Regions from separate parts of the Homo sapiens genome. Here all the other regions are linked to region 1. Evidence: promoter capture Hi-C in human tissues and cell types (Jung and others, 2019). All regions are on one chromosome and are shown on one strand. The core of a region is centred on a gene start or on the middle of the fragment in contact, and the rest is flanking DNA. Distances in the headings are between cores, read along the strand shown.

Evidence for each region. The method cuts DNA at HindIII sites, captures the fragments that hold promoters and counts their contacts. A contact is called where the count stands out against the background at its distance.
Region 2: a fragment that was not itself captured here is called in contact with the fragment with the promoter of FZD4 in region 1 in 1 of the 25 tissues and cell types used here (heart right ventricle).
Region 3: a fragment that was not itself captured here is called in contact with the fragment with the promoter of FZD4 in region 1 in 3 of the 25 tissues and cell types used here (adrenal gland, bladder and thymus).
Region 4: a contact is called between a fragment that was not itself captured here and the fragment with the promoter of FZD4 in region 1, in 2 of the 25 tissues and cell types used here (heart right ventricle and thymus).
Region 5: a contact is called between a fragment that was not itself captured here and the fragment with the promoter of FZD4 in region 1, in 2 of the 25 tissues and cell types used here (adrenal gland and heart right ventricle).
Region 6: a contact is called between a fragment that was not itself captured here and the fragment with the promoter of FZD4 in region 1, in 7 of the 25 tissues and cell types used here (H1 embryonic stem cells, bladder, heart left ventricle and 4 more).

The regions. Positions count from the first base shown.
Region 1 is chr11:86,954,061-86,956,863 of GRCh38, reverse strand. It overlaps FZD4 (frizzled class receptor 4), which reads left to right and starts at 1,469. Exons shown (of 2, transcript NM_012193.4): 1 at 1,469-2,063. The coding sequence starts at 1,779. It overlaps FZD4-DT (FZD4 divergent transcript), which reads right to left and starts at 1,243. Exons shown (of 3, transcript NR_038905.1): 1 at 1,152-1,243. RefSeq lists silencers at 742-891, 1,242-1,611, 1,742-1,791. The HindIII fragment of the contact is 8,131 bases long and covers 1-2,803 here.
Region 2 is chr11:87,177,697-87,180,499 of GRCh38, reverse strand. The region is part of intron 5 of TMEM135 (transmembrane protein 135); the gene reads right to left. Among named protein-coding and RNA genes, the nearest start is that of TMEM135, 140 kb to the right of the region's middle. The HindIII fragment of the contact is 5,072 bases long and covers 1-2,803 here.
Region 3 is chr11:87,155,542-87,158,344 of GRCh38, reverse strand. It overlaps TMEM135 (transmembrane protein 135), which reads right to left. Exons shown (of 15, transcript NM_022918.4): 5 at 939-1,004. Among named protein-coding and RNA genes, the nearest start is that of TMEM135, 120 kb to the right of the region's middle. The HindIII fragment of the contact is 6,922 bases long and covers 1-2,803 here.
Region 4 is chr11:87,138,162-87,140,964 of GRCh38, reverse strand. The region is part of intron 4 of TMEM135 (transmembrane protein 135); the gene reads right to left. Among named protein-coding and RNA genes, the nearest start is that of TMEM135, 100 kb to the right of the region's middle. The HindIII fragment of the contact is 5,935 bases long and covers 1-2,803 here.
Region 5 is chr11:87,116,297-87,119,099 of GRCh38, reverse strand. All of the region lies in intron 4 of TMEM135 (transmembrane protein 135), which reads right to left. Among named protein-coding and RNA genes, the nearest start is that of TMEM135, 80 kb to the right of the region's middle. The HindIII fragment of the contact is 5,171 bases long and covers 1-2,803 here.
Region 6 is chr11:87,096,820-87,099,622 of GRCh38, reverse strand. All of the region lies in intron 4 of TMEM135 (transmembrane protein 135), which reads right to left. Among named protein-coding and RNA genes, the nearest start is that of TMEM135, 60 kb to the right of the region's middle. The HindIII fragment of the contact is 5,790 bases long and covers 1-2,803 here.

The sequences.
Region 1 (2,803 bases), core at 220-2,719:
GGGCTGCTGGAGCTGTCTTTAGCACCAGGCTGGAAAGCAGGAGGCTGTCCCATAATTGATCTCCCCTAGCTGTTTTGGAAACACATACACACACACACACACACACACACACACACACACACACCCCAATCACCAAGTTCTTCAGCATTTATTATGTGTCAGACACTGCTAAATGATTTACAGGTATTATCTCACTGAACTCTTAGAACAACTGTGTGAGGTGGATATGAACTTCCCCACTTTACAGCCGGCCACTTTGAGGCTCAGAGAGGCACCATAGCTTCAACACAGTCAAGCAACAAGTAAACGGTGGAGGAATCCACCTGCTGGGAGTTTACTGGCCGACTGGAAAGCAGAGAGAGGGTGGACCAGCACAAAGCCGCGGGGGGCTGGTAATGAGACAGGAAAGTTGGGTTCAAACCTGGGTCACATGATCCCCAGATCCCTAGGAGCCGAAGCAGAAGCAAAGAAAAAAAGGGGTGCAGCCTGGTGGGGAGGGGGTGCCCGGGAGGCCGGGAGAGAGGAGTCACGGTGGTTGTGCGCCTTCCTCGTCCCCAGTGCACAGGTCAAGCCTCTCCCCTCCCGCCCTCTCACCCTCCCAACCTTATTTAGAAACCGTGTCCCCGAGACAGGAAGGGCGGCGGGCCGAGAAGCACGGAGAGTCCCGGTCTCATTTCCTTTCGAATCCCCCTGTGGAATTTCATTTCATACGGTGAGGAAATCAGAGCGCGAGACCGTCGGCGGGTCTGCAGCTCCGCAGCTCTGGGGCGCCTCCCCGCTGGCGGCTGGAGGTGGGCGGCTCCCTGCGCAGGTCGGGCGAGTCTGGGGGCGGGGAGAGGCCGGGCCCCGATCGCCGCTGGTCCGGAGTGAAAATAGCTGTGGACTCACGCAGTACCAGGCACCATGCTAAGCCTTCTACACTTTATCTCTAATCCTCCCAAGTGACTTTACAGAGGAGACTGACGCCGAGGGGTTGAGCAATTTGCTCAAGGTCACACAACCGGGACTGAAAGCCACAATCGGTGTAAATCCAAATCCCCAATTCTTTGTGTACGTTTCTCTGCCTGACGGGGAGGTGGCCACCGGCCTAGGTTACAGCTGAAAGGAGACAGGAAGGAAAGGGGGCAGATGGAACAGGGCGCACTTCTCACCTGCAGAAGGGGGCAGGACGGCGTGGCTGGAGCCACTGGGCTGCGTCCCTGCTTGGCCCCTGCGCGCCTAGATCCGGGTGGGAGGAAAGCAAGAGCCGGGAGGCGGGCGGGGCGGGGCGCTAGGGGAGGGAGGGAGGGAGGGGCGGCCGGAGGAGGGGGCCGGAGGGCGGGGGCCTGACTCCTCCTGCGGGAGAGCGGCCCCGCCCCGCCGCCTCGCCCCTAGCTGCCCACCGCGCCCGGCCATTGGAGAGGCCCGCTGTCCGTCCCGCCCCGCCGCCGCGCCGCGAGCCTCCAGCGCCGCGCAGGGCTCCGGCGGTGAGAGCTGCGCAGCGCTGGCTGCTGGCTGGCCTCGCGGAGACGCCGAACGGACGCGGCCGGCGCCGGCTTGTGGGCTCGCCGCCTGCAGCCATGACCCTCGCAGCCTGTCCCTCGGCCTCGGCCCGGGACGTCTAAAATCCCACACAGTCGCGCGCAGCTGCTGGAGAGCCGGCCGCTGCCCCCTCGTCGCCGCATCACACTCCCGTCCCGGGAGCTGGGAGCAGCGCGGGCAGCCGGCGCCCCCGTGCAAACTGGGGGTGTCTGCCAGAGCAGCCCCAGCCGCTGCCGCTGCTACCCCCGATGCTGGCCATGGCCTGGCGGGGCGCAGGGCCGAGCGTCCCGGGGGCGCCCGGGGGCGTCGGTCTCAGTCTGGGGTTGCTCCTGCAGTTGCTGCTGCTCCTGGGGCCGGCGCGGGGCTTCGGGGACGAGGAAGAGCGGCGCTGCGACCCCATCCGCATCTCCATGTGCCAGAACCTCGGCTACAACGTGACCAAGATGCCCAACCTGGTTGGGCACGAGCTGCAGACGGACGCCGAGCTGCAGCTGACAACTTTCACACCGCTCATCCAGTACGGCTGCTCCAGCCAGCTGCAGGTGGGCGCCCCCACCCCCACCCCTGGCGGGACCCCTTGGGGAGGGACGCTCCAAACTAACTTTGCAGAGCCCATGCCAAGTTGATCATCCTAGCCCGAAGGAGACAGCTCTCCTGGAAAAGTGATTTCCATCCCCACCCCCACTTTCTCAGGGACTGGAAGCCAAAACGTTGTGTAAGTCATCTGGCCTGGGAAAGAACCCACTCTTACACCCCGCCCTTCCGTTTTTCTCTCTTGCCCACCCATGTCTGGCCCAGACCCCTAACCCCAGTGGAGCTGAGGGTTATCTCTGCCAAGGATTCTGGCCGCCACTGCTCGGTGGGCGAGTGGGAGGGAGCCAGCTGCAGCTAAGACTTGGAGGGAGTGATAAGGAGACCATCCTTCACCGAACTTCCTTCTCCCCACTATTTTTGGGGTGTTATTAAATGAAACACTACTGCACCTTTTTCTGCTGAATAGCCCCTTCTCACGACGTCCCGCAGCGTTTTAGAGGTCATGCATGAAGGAGTGGTTGGGTTGGCTTGAGTTCTTTCTTATCCTCACAGTTGAAGGCACGTTTAATGCTTGGAGGGTGAGAAGAAGCTGCAGGAAGGTGGTTGGTATATTGGAAGAAATTTTTTTGCAGTCATTAAAAAATGTAAAGCATATCTAATGATAGAGAAAATGTTTATTCCACAGTAATAAGAATTTGCATATACAGGGTGATTATAATCCTGCAAAATAAAAAATTTATTGGGATAA
Region 2 (2,803 bases), core at 97-2,596, 220 kb before region 1:
TCTCCATAATTTCCCCAACACTATCTGTCTCCTAGACCCCTTATCTTAATTCTCTGGCTACAAAACTGGTGTTTTTGCCTCCACACACACTCATATACTTTCTGCAACTGCATCTGCCTTGGGGAGAAGTGGCAAGAAAGGGGGGAAAAAAGCAAAAACTAACAGATATTCTCCCCTCATTCTTTGGGCTACAGGGGCCCGTTTTTCCCGTTTATCTGGTCAAAGAAAAAGATTATCTTTCAGAGTTTTAAATGCCTGCATAGTTGCCATTGCCACCACCACTACCATTGCAGGGGAACGGCCTCATGATTAAGGCTTACTTGGGGTCCCACCAGAAAAGTAAAACAAAAACCAGAATACAAAACACAAAGAAAACAGTGATGTTCCACACAGACTCCTTCGCACAGGGGCCCTTCTTTCCAGTCCTCTGACCATAAACAGAGAAAAAGAGGATTCTTCTGTCTGCATCTGTTGTGCAGACCAAGAATAAGATGCCCTGGAGTCCAAGCTGGGAGAAAAAGAAAGGGGAAAAGGGCAGAGAAAACAACAACAACAACAACAGAAAAAAACAGAAAACTTGCCAGTATCAGTCATATCTCCAGGTTGGAAGTGCATCCTGAACCTCCTGCTATTATTTACTCTTCAGAGACCTCAAACAGCTGTGCTGTGTATTCTGTCCAGGGTTTTTAGTTGGAATGCACGGGACAGAGTCTTGCTCCATATTAGTAGAATCAGAACCACAGAAATTCTAGACATAAATCCTGATATTTATGGTCAACTGTTTTTTAACAAAGATGCCAAAGCAATTCAATGGGCAAAGACAGACTTTTCAAAAAATGCTGCTGGTACAACTGAATACACACAGGCAAAAAATTAAAAAAAAATGAACTTGGATTTTCACCTCAAACCGTATTTAAAAGATGAAACAAAGACTTATATGATCTGAAGAGAAACCAGAGTATCTCACACCATATTTAAAAGTAAACTCAAAACAGATCACAGACCTAAATGAAAAACAAAGGAGAAAATCTTTGTGACCCCCAACTAGGTAAAGATTTCTTGGATATGATAGCAAAAGTATAGCTCCTAACAGAAAAAAAAATTAATGAATGGAACATCATCAAAATTTAGAACATTTTGTCTTCAAAAAGCACTATTTAGAAAGTGAAAACACAGGCCACGATCTGGGAAAATATATTCCCAAATCCTATATTTAATAAAAGATTTGATCCAAAATGAAAAACTTTTCAAAGTCACCTCCTGCAATTCAGTAATAAGACAATAAACCCCATGAAAAAAGGGCAAGAAAATTTAATAGACATTTCACAAAATGTATACAAATGCCCAATAAGCACTATGAAAAGAAGTCCAACATCACTAGTCATTAGGGAAATGAAAATTACCATAAAAATTACCATACATTTCTAGAATGGCTATAATAAAATAGTCTGATCATACCAAATGTTGGCAAGGATGCTGACAAACTGGACCCCTCATACACTGCCAAGTGGCAATGTAAAATGGAACTACTTTTTTTTTAAGCATTATTCTTATGACCTAACAATTCTACATTTAGGTATCAAGCCAAGAGAAATTAAAACATATGTCAACCCAAAGACTTCTCTCCAATTTTCATAACTGAAAACTGGAAATAATCCAAATGGTCAATTAATATGTCCATAAACAAAATGTAATCCAAACAATGGAATACTATTCAGTCATGAAAAGGGAAAAAAAAAGTACTGATATGAATGAACCTCAAAAACATTATGTTGGACAGGCATGGTGGCTCACACCTATAATCCCAGCAATTTGGGAGGCCGAGACAGGCAGATCACTTGAGGTCAGGAGTTCAAGACTTACCTGGCCAACATGGTGAAATCCCGTCTCTACTAAAAATACAAAAATTAGCCAGGTGTAATGGTGCACCCCTGTAGTCCCAGCTACTCAGGAGACTCAGGCAGGAGAATCCCTTGAACCTGGGAGGCAGAGGCTGCAGGGAGCTGAAATCACTCCAGCCTGGGGAAGACAGTGAGACTCCATCTCAAAAAAACAAAACGCATTATGTTAAGGAAAGGAAGGCAGACTCAAAAGGGCATATATTGTATAATTACATGTATATAAAATTTTCAGAAAAAGAGAGTTTAGATTGTGGCATAATAAAAATATATCTGGACTTTGTTCCTAGTTCCTGGCACAGGGCTTCAAAAACCCTTGGAATTTCAAGGTGACAGTACTGTCTTTGCTATGCTGATGAGGTTGCTCATGGTGATAGCTTCCAGCTAGGGACTGGTCACCAAAAAAACCAAACACATGATTAGAGGGTTGGAACTCTAGGCCAACAGCACCTCCAAGGACAGGAGGGGAGCTGGAGACAGTTCAATCACATGGCCAATAATTTAATCAATCACACCCATATACTGAAACCCCAATAAAAGCTCTGAACACTGAGGCTTGGTGGACACACTGACATGCAGAGAGGGTAATGTACCCTGACTCTACAGGGAGAGGGCATGGAAGCTTTAGGTCCAGGTCCCTTCCAAACCTTGTCTTATGTGTACCCTTTATAATAAAACTATATAACATTTTTAGTGAGCTCTGTGAGTCATTCCAGAGAATTACTGAACCTATACATTTGGGAATCTCCAATTTTATAGTCAGTCGTCAGAAGCATGAATGTTCTGCATTTGTGGCTGGCATCTGAATTGAGAGCAGTCTTCTGGAGGGCTAAACTCTTAAACCTGTGGAGTCTGATACTAATTGATGGGCAGTTAGTGTCAGAACTGTATTACAATATACCCAC
Region 3 (2,803 bases), core at 166-2,665, 200 kb before region 1:
TAATACAATTCTGTTTAACTCCTTAGATACTCACTTCCACTACTAAATATTTAGGTTTCTGAATTATAAATATTACATTAAATAACATCAAACTTAATTCAAGAATAGGGAATTCTAAGGGCTAGGCATGGTGGCTCATGCCTGTAATGCCGGCACTCTGTGAGGTAAAGGCAGGATAATCGCTTGAGGCCAGGAGTTCAAGACCAGCCTAAGCAACATAGCAAGACCCCATCTCCTCAAAAATAGGGATTTCTGTATTTTATCCTTAAGTATTTGCCATTAGAATAGAAAAAGGAACATAACAATTTGGTGTTACATTCGACCTCAACCTAAATTTGTCTTAGTAAAGGAGAAAATAAAGAAAGAGCAGACAAAGTGGTAATCAAGCTGGTAATAATTTTAACATGAAAATGTATGTGAGGTGATAGAAAAATCTTCTAAAGGATTGACAGGAGCATTTTAAAAAGTCAAAACTTAGCATCTGCAGACAAAATCCTCTCCAGCTTTTTTCTCCCTCTCCCTCTCCCTCTTCCTTCCCTTCTCTCCACGTGTAGTAAATGTTCAACATTTCCGATTATTTTATCTTAAGAAATAAGTATCAGTTCTGTATAACACAAAATAGAAAGAAAGCAAAAGCTAAGGAATTCTTTTTTTCATTACAAACATTTGTAGAAGTTACTAATAAAATGTCATTTTTTAAGAGTAAAGATATTTGATAACTAAAGGTAAAAAGACAGTAATTTGTTTTCAATCTAAGATCTGGTTCCAACATGACTATGAATTAAAATGGATTTGTTCATCAGGTACACTCAATATTATATACATCAGATATCTCTCTATTTCTTAGACAAAGCATCATAGATTTCATCACATTTTATATTTTAAAATCGCAAACTATAAATTAACAACTAATAACTATATCAAAATTCTCATCTTACTTCTCCATTTCTTAATGTTGTGATGGTTCCTCTTGCTACACCCATTCTGAATAGTGTTTCTGTGGCCTGTAAATTAAAAAAAAAAAACAGCAAAAATATATGATCTACAATCTCTCCTCAATTGTATATCCCACACCCTAAATGTGAAAAACATTCAATACTATTATATATCCAGCAACTTCTAGAGAACGATCAATAAGTTGTATATGCCTATAGTCCTAGCTACTCAGGCAAGAGGATCACTTGAGTCCAGGAGTTCAAGGCTACAGTGAGCTATGATTGAGCCACTGCCTAGATGACAGAGTGAGACCCTGTCTAAAAAAAAAAAAAAACAAAAGAAAGAAAGAAAGAAAAGAAATGCAACGCAACTAGAGAACCATCTACAAGGCACAATAAGAGCTAGAAGTTATAAATTGTACCCCAGAAATATCATAATCACAATCTTTTAAGAGCTCAAACTTAATTGTTTCAAATGGTTATTTTGATAATCTGGTATTCTTCCAGGACTATAGTTTCGAATTAGTTTGCTTAGACAAGTTTAAACCTTAGTTTAATGAACAAAAATTAAGTTCAAATGTAGCATTTAAATTCAACTTGGAAGTTATCATTTATTCTGAATTTAGTTTCCATTTGAATTTAGTTCAAATCACTTATCTGCTACTAATATAGAGACAGGAGATAAAGTAATTTAGTAATGTCATATATTAGGTGACACACCAAAATAGTTATTGCTCACTATACACTAACAATGAACAATCAGAAAAGGAAATTAAGAAAACAATTCCATTTACAACAGCATAAAAAAAAACTCCTAGGGAAAAATAAAACAAGGAAGTGAAAGACTTGTAATCTGAAGACAACAAAACATTGCTGAAAGAAATTGAAGAAGACACAAATAAATAAAAAGACATCCTGTGCTCATGGTTTGGAATACTTATTATTAAGATGACAATACAACCCAAAGTGATCGACAGATTCAATGCAATCCCTATTAAAATCCCAATGGCACATGTTGCAGAACTAGAAAAATCCATCCTGAAATTCATATAGAACGTTAAGGGACCCCAAATAAACAAAACAAACTTGAAAAAAGAAGAAGAAAGTTGAAGGACTCACTTTCGGATTTAAAACTTACTACAAACCTACAGTAATCAAAAATATGTGGTACTATCATAAAGATGGACATCTAAGACAATGGAATAGAACAGAGAACCCAAAAATAAAACCTTGCATATATGATCAAATGATATTTGACCAGGGTAATAAGACTATTGAGTGCACAAAGGACAATCTTTTCAAAAGTACTTTAAAAAACTGGAAATCCATGAAACTGTCCTCACAGGCTTAACAAGAATTTTGAATAGAAATATAGTTATAATTAAGCATAAATCAGCTGCACTTTGACCCACTTCCTTGTAAGAAAAAGTCTAGAAACAGTACATACTGTCCATTTGAATCCCCATTGTTACTATAGATAGAATTTCTGACACTAAGGTTGTAAGACATTTTTTAAGACAGATAGGGTCTCTGATGTTAGAATCATAAGGCTTTTGCTTATTCAAGATATGGAATACTTAAACAGATCCTGAATTCCAGTAAAACAGCTGACACCAACCAACTTAAAGATCCCCAAAGAGGAACCAAATCAGCATGAGAATACAGTTCCTTTGTCTCCCTGTCCCATGATCTCACCCTGCACTCTTGGACCAACCAACCATCTCCAAACTCTGGCACACTCCAAAAGCCTTCAAAACTCTAGCCCCAAATTCCACAGGGAGATGGATTTGAGGTTTCCTTTCATCTCCTCAGTCAGTGGCCCTAAACTTAAACATCTCTCTCTGCTACAATCTGATGTCTTGGTGTAC
Region 4 (2,803 bases), core at 177-2,676, 180 kb before region 1:
AGAATTCAAAAATAGACCCAACACTATATGTCCAATTGATTTTCTACAAAGATATCAATATAATTCAATGGAGAATCAATAGGTTCTTCAACTAACAGAGGTGAAACAACGGAATTTCCAAACGGAAATATATGAACCTCAACCCGTAACTCACTCCATAACAAAAACTAACTCAAAATAAATCACAGACTTAAATGTTAGAGCTCAAAACATAAAACTTCTGGAAGAAAAACACTGGAGAAAACATTTATGATCTTGATTTGAGCAAAGATATACTACATTGGGGATAAAAAAACAAATATTAAAGAAAAAATTTCATCACTGCAGATTATACCATCCAAAGATGCCCACACCAAAATATATATCCTATCCCACATGTGCTTCTTAAAATGTGACATTGACTGTCCCCCATACATATTCCCTCTCCTTGTACCAGGGACCTTTAAAACTACCTTTGTAACTATAACATAAATAGAAGGAGGCAGAACAACTAATACATTGATAAAATGTGCCTAATCAAAATTAAAAACCTTTTGCTCTTTGCAGTCAAATTGTTTGCCCATGATAGCCCATTACTTAATTTAAAAAATGAAAAAGCAGCTGGGCGTGGTGGCTCACACCTGTAATCCCAGCACTTTGGGAGGCCATGGCAGGCGGATCACGAGGTCAGGAGATCGAGACCATCCTGGCTAACAGGGTGAAACCCCATCTCTACTAAAAATACAAAAAATTAGCCGGGCGTGGTGGCATGCACCTGTAGTCCCAGCTACTTCAGAGGCTGAGGCGGGAGAATTGCTTGAACCTGGGAGGTAGAGGTTGCAATGAGCTGAGATCACACCATTGCACTGCAGCCTGGGCGACAGAGTGAGGCTCCATCTCAAACACAAAAAAAAAGAAAGAAAGAAAAAGTAAGCCACAAACTCTGAAAAAATATCTGCAAATATATATGTGGCAAAGCACTTAAATTCAAAATATATAAATAACTCTTACTAGTCAAAAATAAGCTACACAACCCAAAAAATTGAAATGATCAAAAGATTTCAACAGATACTTGAACAAAAAAATCTACATATATCATATACATACTATATATGAATATATGTGCATATGTATACACACACACAAATATTTATGAATAGCCAAAGCCAACAAAAAGATGTTCAATATTATTAGTCTGTAGGAAAATGCAAATTAAAACCAAAATAAGATACCACTCCACATGCACTAGAACAAGTAAAAAGAATGACAATACCAAGTGATAGTGAGAATATGGAGATACTGGAACTCTCATATATTGCTGGCGGGAAGGCAAAATGGTACAGTCAGTTTGGAAAACAATTTGTCAGTTTCCTGTAAATTTAAACATATACTTACCATGAGGCCCAGCAATTCTATCCCTAGGTATCTACCCAAGATAAATGAAAACATATATCCATTTATATGAGCTATAGAAAAGCCAAAATTTTAGTGACAGAGAGCAGACAAGTGACTGCTTGGGATCTAGGACATGGGAAGAGAAAACCGCAAAGGGGAAAGAGGGGCTTTTTAAGGAAGAGAGAAATATTCTATATCTTGATTGTGCTTATAGTCACATGACTATAAACATTTGCCAAAACTCATCAAACTGTAAACTTAAAATACATGAAGTTCATTAAATATAAATAAGGCTGTTTTCTCAAAATACTACCTGTCCCTCCTCCCCAGTCCCACCCAAAAGTAGCTCTCAATTCAGTGGTAATTCAACTCCCCCTTATCATTGGGAAAAATCTGGGTACTACATTAATGAAAAATTTTTTAGGAAGGACACAGATGCTTTAGAAAGAAATTCATATGCTTTAGAGATAGATTTTATCTTAAATTCATATAAACTTCTTAAATTCATAGAAACTGGGAGCAGAGGTGGAAGCTGCCGAAAGCAACAGAAATACTAAAGCCAGTAATAAATACTAGAGATGAATAATCCAGGAAAGATGAAACAGAGCCTGCATGTCATACTCGTAGGTACGCTGGGGATCCAAGATAAGTAAGTTATGAAAACCCTGCATTCCATACAAAATTCCACATGTCACCAATTAAGAACCACTGCTCTAGTATACACTTAACTTGATCATGAAGAAAAATATGTACTCTATATAAAAACCAGCAAGTTGGCAAACAAGCATTGCCAATCTCACCTTTACTTGCAGATGAGTGCTCTTGCACCTGTGTTCCCATCCACCATTTGTCCAAGCAAAAAGTTGTCAGACCTGAATCCTTCTTCTGCCACAATGTATCATACTATATAGTAACTAATTATTCATTTACAATTCTCACTAGAATATAGATTCTATTTCACTAATATACCTCTGCCACTTACACCTGATAAACACTCAAAAAATATTGAATAAATGCAAGATGTAAGAGCTAATGAGTAAGTCATTGTTTGGACTATGTCAAGTAAGTGCTTATTTACTGATTATATTGGGGTATGTGGTTTAGCAAAGTATGAACAAATATTTCCTTAACTACATTAAAGCAATTTCAAATGCTGAAAAAATAATTCATTAGCTTTTCATATTAATGAAATCAATTTGGAGCTGGGCGCAGTGGCTCAAACCTGTAATCCCAGCGCTTTGGGAGGCCAAGGCGGGCGGATCACCTGAGGTCACGAGCTTGAGACCAGCCTGGCCAACATGGTGAAACCCCATCTCTATTAAAAATACAAAAATTAGCCGGGTGTGGTGGCGGGCACCTGTAATCCCAGCTACTTGGAAGGCTGAGGCAGGAGAATCACTTGAACCCAGGAGGCGGGGGTTGCAGTGGG
Region 5 (2,803 bases), core at 136-2,635, 160 kb before region 1:
CTTCTTGTTCCAGTGAGCCAAGTTGTAAATGCAAAGGAAAGTTCTCAAAGGAAATTAAAAGTGCTATAACAGTGAATACACGAATGACAAGAAAGCAAAACAGCCTTATTGCTGACACAGAGAAAGTTTTAGTGGTCTGAATAGAAGATTAAACCAACCACAACATTCCCTTCACCAAAACCTAATCCAGAGCAAGGCCCTAACTCTCTTCAATTCTATGAAGGCTGAGAAAGGTGAGGAAATTGCAGAAGTGTGAAGCTAGCAGAGGTGGGTTCATGAGATTTAAGGGAAGAAGCTATCTCCATAACATAAAAATGCAAGGTGAAGCAGCAAGTGCTAACATAGAAGCTACAGGAAGGGCTGGGCACGGTGGCTCACGCCTGTAATCCCAGCACTTTGGGAGGTCACGATGGGCGGATCATGAGGTCAGGAGAGCAGCTTGGCCAACATAGTGAAACCCCATCTGTACTAAAAATACAAAAAATTAGCTGGGCATGGTGGCAGGCACCTGTTATCCCAGCTACTTGGGAGGCTAAGGCAGGAGGATCACTTGAACCCGGGAGGTGGAGGTTGCAGTGAGCTGAGATCGTGTCATTGCACTCCAGCCCGGGCAACAGTGTGACACACCGTCTCAAAAAAGAAAAAAAAAAAGCTACAGGAAGTTATCCAGAAGATCTAGCCAAGATTGTTGATGAAGGTGGCTATACTAAACAACAGATTTTAGACAAAGGAGCCTTACATTGGAAGAAGATGTCATCTATGACTTTCGCAGCTAGAGAAAAGAACTCAATGCCTGGCTTCAAACCTTTAGAGAACAGACTGACTTTCCATACAACTGGTGACTTTAAGTTTAAGCCAATGACCATTTACCATTCTGACAATACTAAGGCCCTTAAGAATTACCTAAATCTACTCTGCCCATGTTCCATAAATGAAACAACAAAGCACACGTGTTTATAGCATGGTTTACTGAATATTTTAAGCCCACTGCTGAGACCTGCTACTCAGAAAAAAAAAATTCCTTTCAAAATATTACTACTCATTGACAACACACCAGGTCACCCAAGAGGTTGGATGTACAAGATTAATGTTGTTCTCATGCCTGCTAATACAATATCCATTCTGCAGCCCATGGATCAAGGAGTAGTTTGAACTTGCAAATCTTATTACTTACAACTATTTCATAAAGCTATAGTTGCTTTATGAGTGATTGATGAGAGAATGATTCCTCTGATGGATTGGGGCAAAGCAAATTGTAAACCTTCTGGAAAGAACTCACCATTCTACATGCCATTAAGGACATTTGTGATTCATGGGAGGTGGTCTAAATATCAACATTAACAGGAGTTTGGAAGCCACTGATTCTCACCCTCATAGATGACGTAGAGGGGTTCAAGACCAGTGAAGGAAGTAAATGCAAATGTGGTTGAAAGAGCAACAGAACTAGAATTAGAAATGAAGCTGGAAGATGTGACTGAATGCCTCCAATCTCATGATAAATCTTGAACAGATCAGGAGTTCTGTTTTTTTCTTATGAATGAGCAAAAAAAGAGGTTTCTTGAAATGAAATTTACTCCTGGTGATTATGCTGTGGACATTATTGAAATGACAACAAAGAATTTAGAATATTACATAAACTTAATTGAGAAAGCAGCAGCAGTGCTTGAGAGAATTGACTCCAATTTTAAAAGAAATTGTACTGTGGATGAAATGCTATCAAACAGCACTGCATGCTTCAGAGAGATCTTTCATGAAAGAAAGAGTCAATCAATATGGCAAATTTCATTGTTGTCTTATATTAAAAAATTGGCACAGTCATGCCAACCTTCAGCAACTACCACCTTAACTAGCAATCATCAACACTGGGGCAAGGCCTTCCAAAGATTATGACTTCCTGATCATTCCTGATATCACTATCAACTTGTAGCTATAAGTTTTTTTTAATTAATGTGTGTACTTTGTTTTAAACATAATGCTTTGGCTGGGCGCGGTGGCTCACGCCTGTAATCTCAGCACTTTGGGAGGCCGAGGCAGGTGGATCATGAGGTCAGAAGTTAGAGACCAGCCTGACCAACATGGTGAAACCCCATCTCTACCATAAATACAAAAATTAGCCATGTGTGGTGGCACATGCCTGTAATCCCAGCTACTCAGGAGGCTGAGGCAGGAGAATCATTTGAACCCAAAAGGCGGAGGTTGCAGTGAGCCGAGATCACGCCACTGCACTCTATCCTGGGAGACAGAGTGAAATTTCATGTCAAAAAAAAAAACAAACCATAATGCTTTGCACATAAAACTACAATATAATGTAAACATGATTTTTATATGCACTGGAAAAGCAAAAAATAATTCATGTGAATCATTTTATTACAGTATTCACTTTATTGCAGTGGTCTAGATCCAAACCCATGATATCTTTGAGGTATGCCTATACTATATGTATGTGTGTGTCTGTGTGTGTGTGTGTGTATGTGTGTGTGTGTGTTTGTACATATATACTATAAATCTTAATAGATATTAATCAATTTATACCAATCCTATTAAGACAGCTAATTTAAATGCATCTAAAATAAATGTCATAATTTAATTATAATTTTCCAATATCTGGAATCAATTAAGTTTCTGAAAAGTTTCAAGTGGGCCACCCAGTAATAAACACAAAATAAATTGTGTCTGCTGTCCTGTTAGTGATAATTTTTTATTGCTACCTCAGTTTCAGATGTCAGAGTAATGACTTCCATATTCTGATTGAAATGCAAATTGAAGCCATATGTTGGAAAGCACAGGCTTTCAATATCATCGC
Region 6 (2,803 bases), core at 151-2,650, 140 kb before region 1:
CAGACCAATAAAAACATGAAAATCTGTACATGAATATTTATAGCAGCTTTGTTCATAACAGCTAAAAACCATGAACAGGGGTTAAGGAGGGGTGACAACAGGAGAGAAGTGGGTGTTGCTATGATGGAAATATTCTGTATCCTGACTGTATCAATTAAATATTCTGGTTTTGATATTATATTATATTATAGTTTTGCGATATGCTACCATTGGGGGAAAATGGGTAAAGAGAACATGGGATCCCTATATTATTTTTTATAATTGCATATGAATCTATAATTATTTCAAAATAAAAGTTTTAATTTTTTTTTAAATACAGTATTTTAAGTGTGCTCTCCAACATCAATAATATCAAAGTCAAAGATCTCTTTCCCAGGAATTCACAATCTAAAGCAGACAACACACAAAAGTTTTAGTAAGTTTACTTATAATTTTCAAATAAGTGTATGAATACGCACAGTATTTGGGTATTGAAGTACACAGCGTGTGCTACTATAGAAAAGCATGTGAGTGTCTAAAAAAATACACTAAAACTCAAATGTATGCTAGCGTGCAGGCATAATACTTTAAAGTTTTCTTGAAAACATAAGAAAAGCAGCACAACAACAAAGCCATTAAGAAAATTTAAGATATTTGGCTGGGCACGGTGGCTCACACCTGTAATCCAAGCACTTTGGGAGGCCGAGGCGGGCGGATCACGAGGTCAGGAGATCGAGACCATCCTGGCTGACATGGTGAAACCCCATCTCTACTTAAAATACAAAAAATTAGCCGGGCGTGGTGGTGGGTGCCTGTAGTCCCAGCTACTTGGGAGGCTGAGGCAGGAGAATGGCATGAACCCAGGAGGCGGAGCTTGCAGTGAGCCGACATGGCACCACTGCACTGCAGCCTGGGCGACAGAGCAAGATTCCATCTCAAAAAAATATATATATATATAAGATACTTTGTTATACAATATAAATAATCTATAACCAAGATTAATCAATTGTTTTAGATTCTTTTCAGGTTGTAGTATTTATTATCACTTAATAATTTAAGTTTATCATTTTAAAGTAGATGATTTCTTCAAGTTATTTATTTTTCTGGATTCTGATTACAACACCATGAGCTGGCAAAACAGGAGTGTTCACACGCAGTTCAAAATAAGTCATGTACTTCATCTATGTACCACAATCACCAACTTTTAATCTTTGTATCTTTTAATCTAAAATACAACATTAATGCAGTCAAATAAAGCAAGGTTTTACTTGTAAATAATATTACAGCAAAACCACCATTACTTTTGCACCAACCTAAAATATTTAAAACAAGCTTTAAAATAAACATCTAGGTTTAATCTGGTATGTCTCCTATAAATCCTTCTCTTTAACCCATTTATGCCTAGTGTTCCATTATTGGAACGCTAAGCTTACAGGAGTTATTATTTTCCTACTGCTCAAGGTCATCGCCAAGGTCTGATTTTTCACAAAAAAAAAAAAAATTTGCAACCTCCAGCATAGATGGGTTAATAAACACATTCATCTATGATTCATTTAACAAATTATGGCACAAAGTACATTTTAGGTACTGTTCTAGGCTTAATACAGCAATGTATAAAACACACAAAAACTCTACATTCATGAAGCTTAAATTCCAAGGTGGGAAGACAGACAATAAAATAATAAGCAAAAAAGATACATGTTAGATGTTGATCAACTCCATGAAAAAAAGATACAGAGGTTTGGGACTGCAGGGGTATAAGTTACATGAAGGGTGACTGTTACTATGTGAGATAGATGTGGAAGGCCTCACAACAGTGACATTTCAGCAGTCTCAGTGAAATGAAACAGCAAGCCATGCAGATATCTAGCGATAAGAGCTCAAAACAGAGCGAACAGCAAGTATCAAAGTCCTGAAGAGAAAGCATGCTTGTCATGCTCACTCAACACCAGAGAGGGCAGTGTGGCTGAAGTGGAGAATGAGGAAGCAGACAGTGGTGGTAAAAGGAAGCCAGAGAAACATAAAGACCCCCCCATAACCACAGGCTTCTTGCAAACCTCGAAAAGAGCCCTACAAAATCTGTTCACATAGTCACTTTGGTAACATTGGCAAAAGTAAGGTATTTTAACCATAGATAGTTAAGATTACTATCATTTTACATTCTGATTTCTCTGTCACACTTCACCTTGTGATGAACAGCACTAGGTTTTGGAATCCAGCTTGCTAGTAGAGTTGAGTTTAGCAAGATATATTGAGTTTGGGTTTAGCATGATATATTCATTAATTTACTTTCCAGTTGCTTTTAGGTATAGAACATTGATTCCTAGTGGCTCATTAAAAGAGTGGCAACCAGGCACGGTGGCTCACGCCTGTAATCCCAGCACTTTGGGAGGCCGAGGCGGGCAGATCACTTGAGGTCAGGAGTTCCAGACCAGCCTGACCAACATGGTGAAACCCCGTCTGTACTGGAAATACAAAAATTAGCCAGGCATGGCAGTGTGCGCCTGTAATCCCAACTACTCTGGGGACTGAGGCAGGAGAATCGTTTGAACCCAGGAGGCAGAGGTTGCAGTGAGCCAAGATCATGCCGCCGCACTCCAGCCTGGGTGACAGAGCCAGACCCTGTCTTGAAAAAAAAAAAAAGAGTGGCTTCCAGGAATACTCTACTGTCTACTGTGCCAACTTACCCCGTCAATGACACAAAGGTGAAGAACCAGAGGCCATAATGATATATAGATACATCCTAGGGTGCCAAGCCCTGAAAATATGTGGGTAATGAAAAAGAAATAAATTTAAAATGCACATGGCTAAAAGACAGATGGTT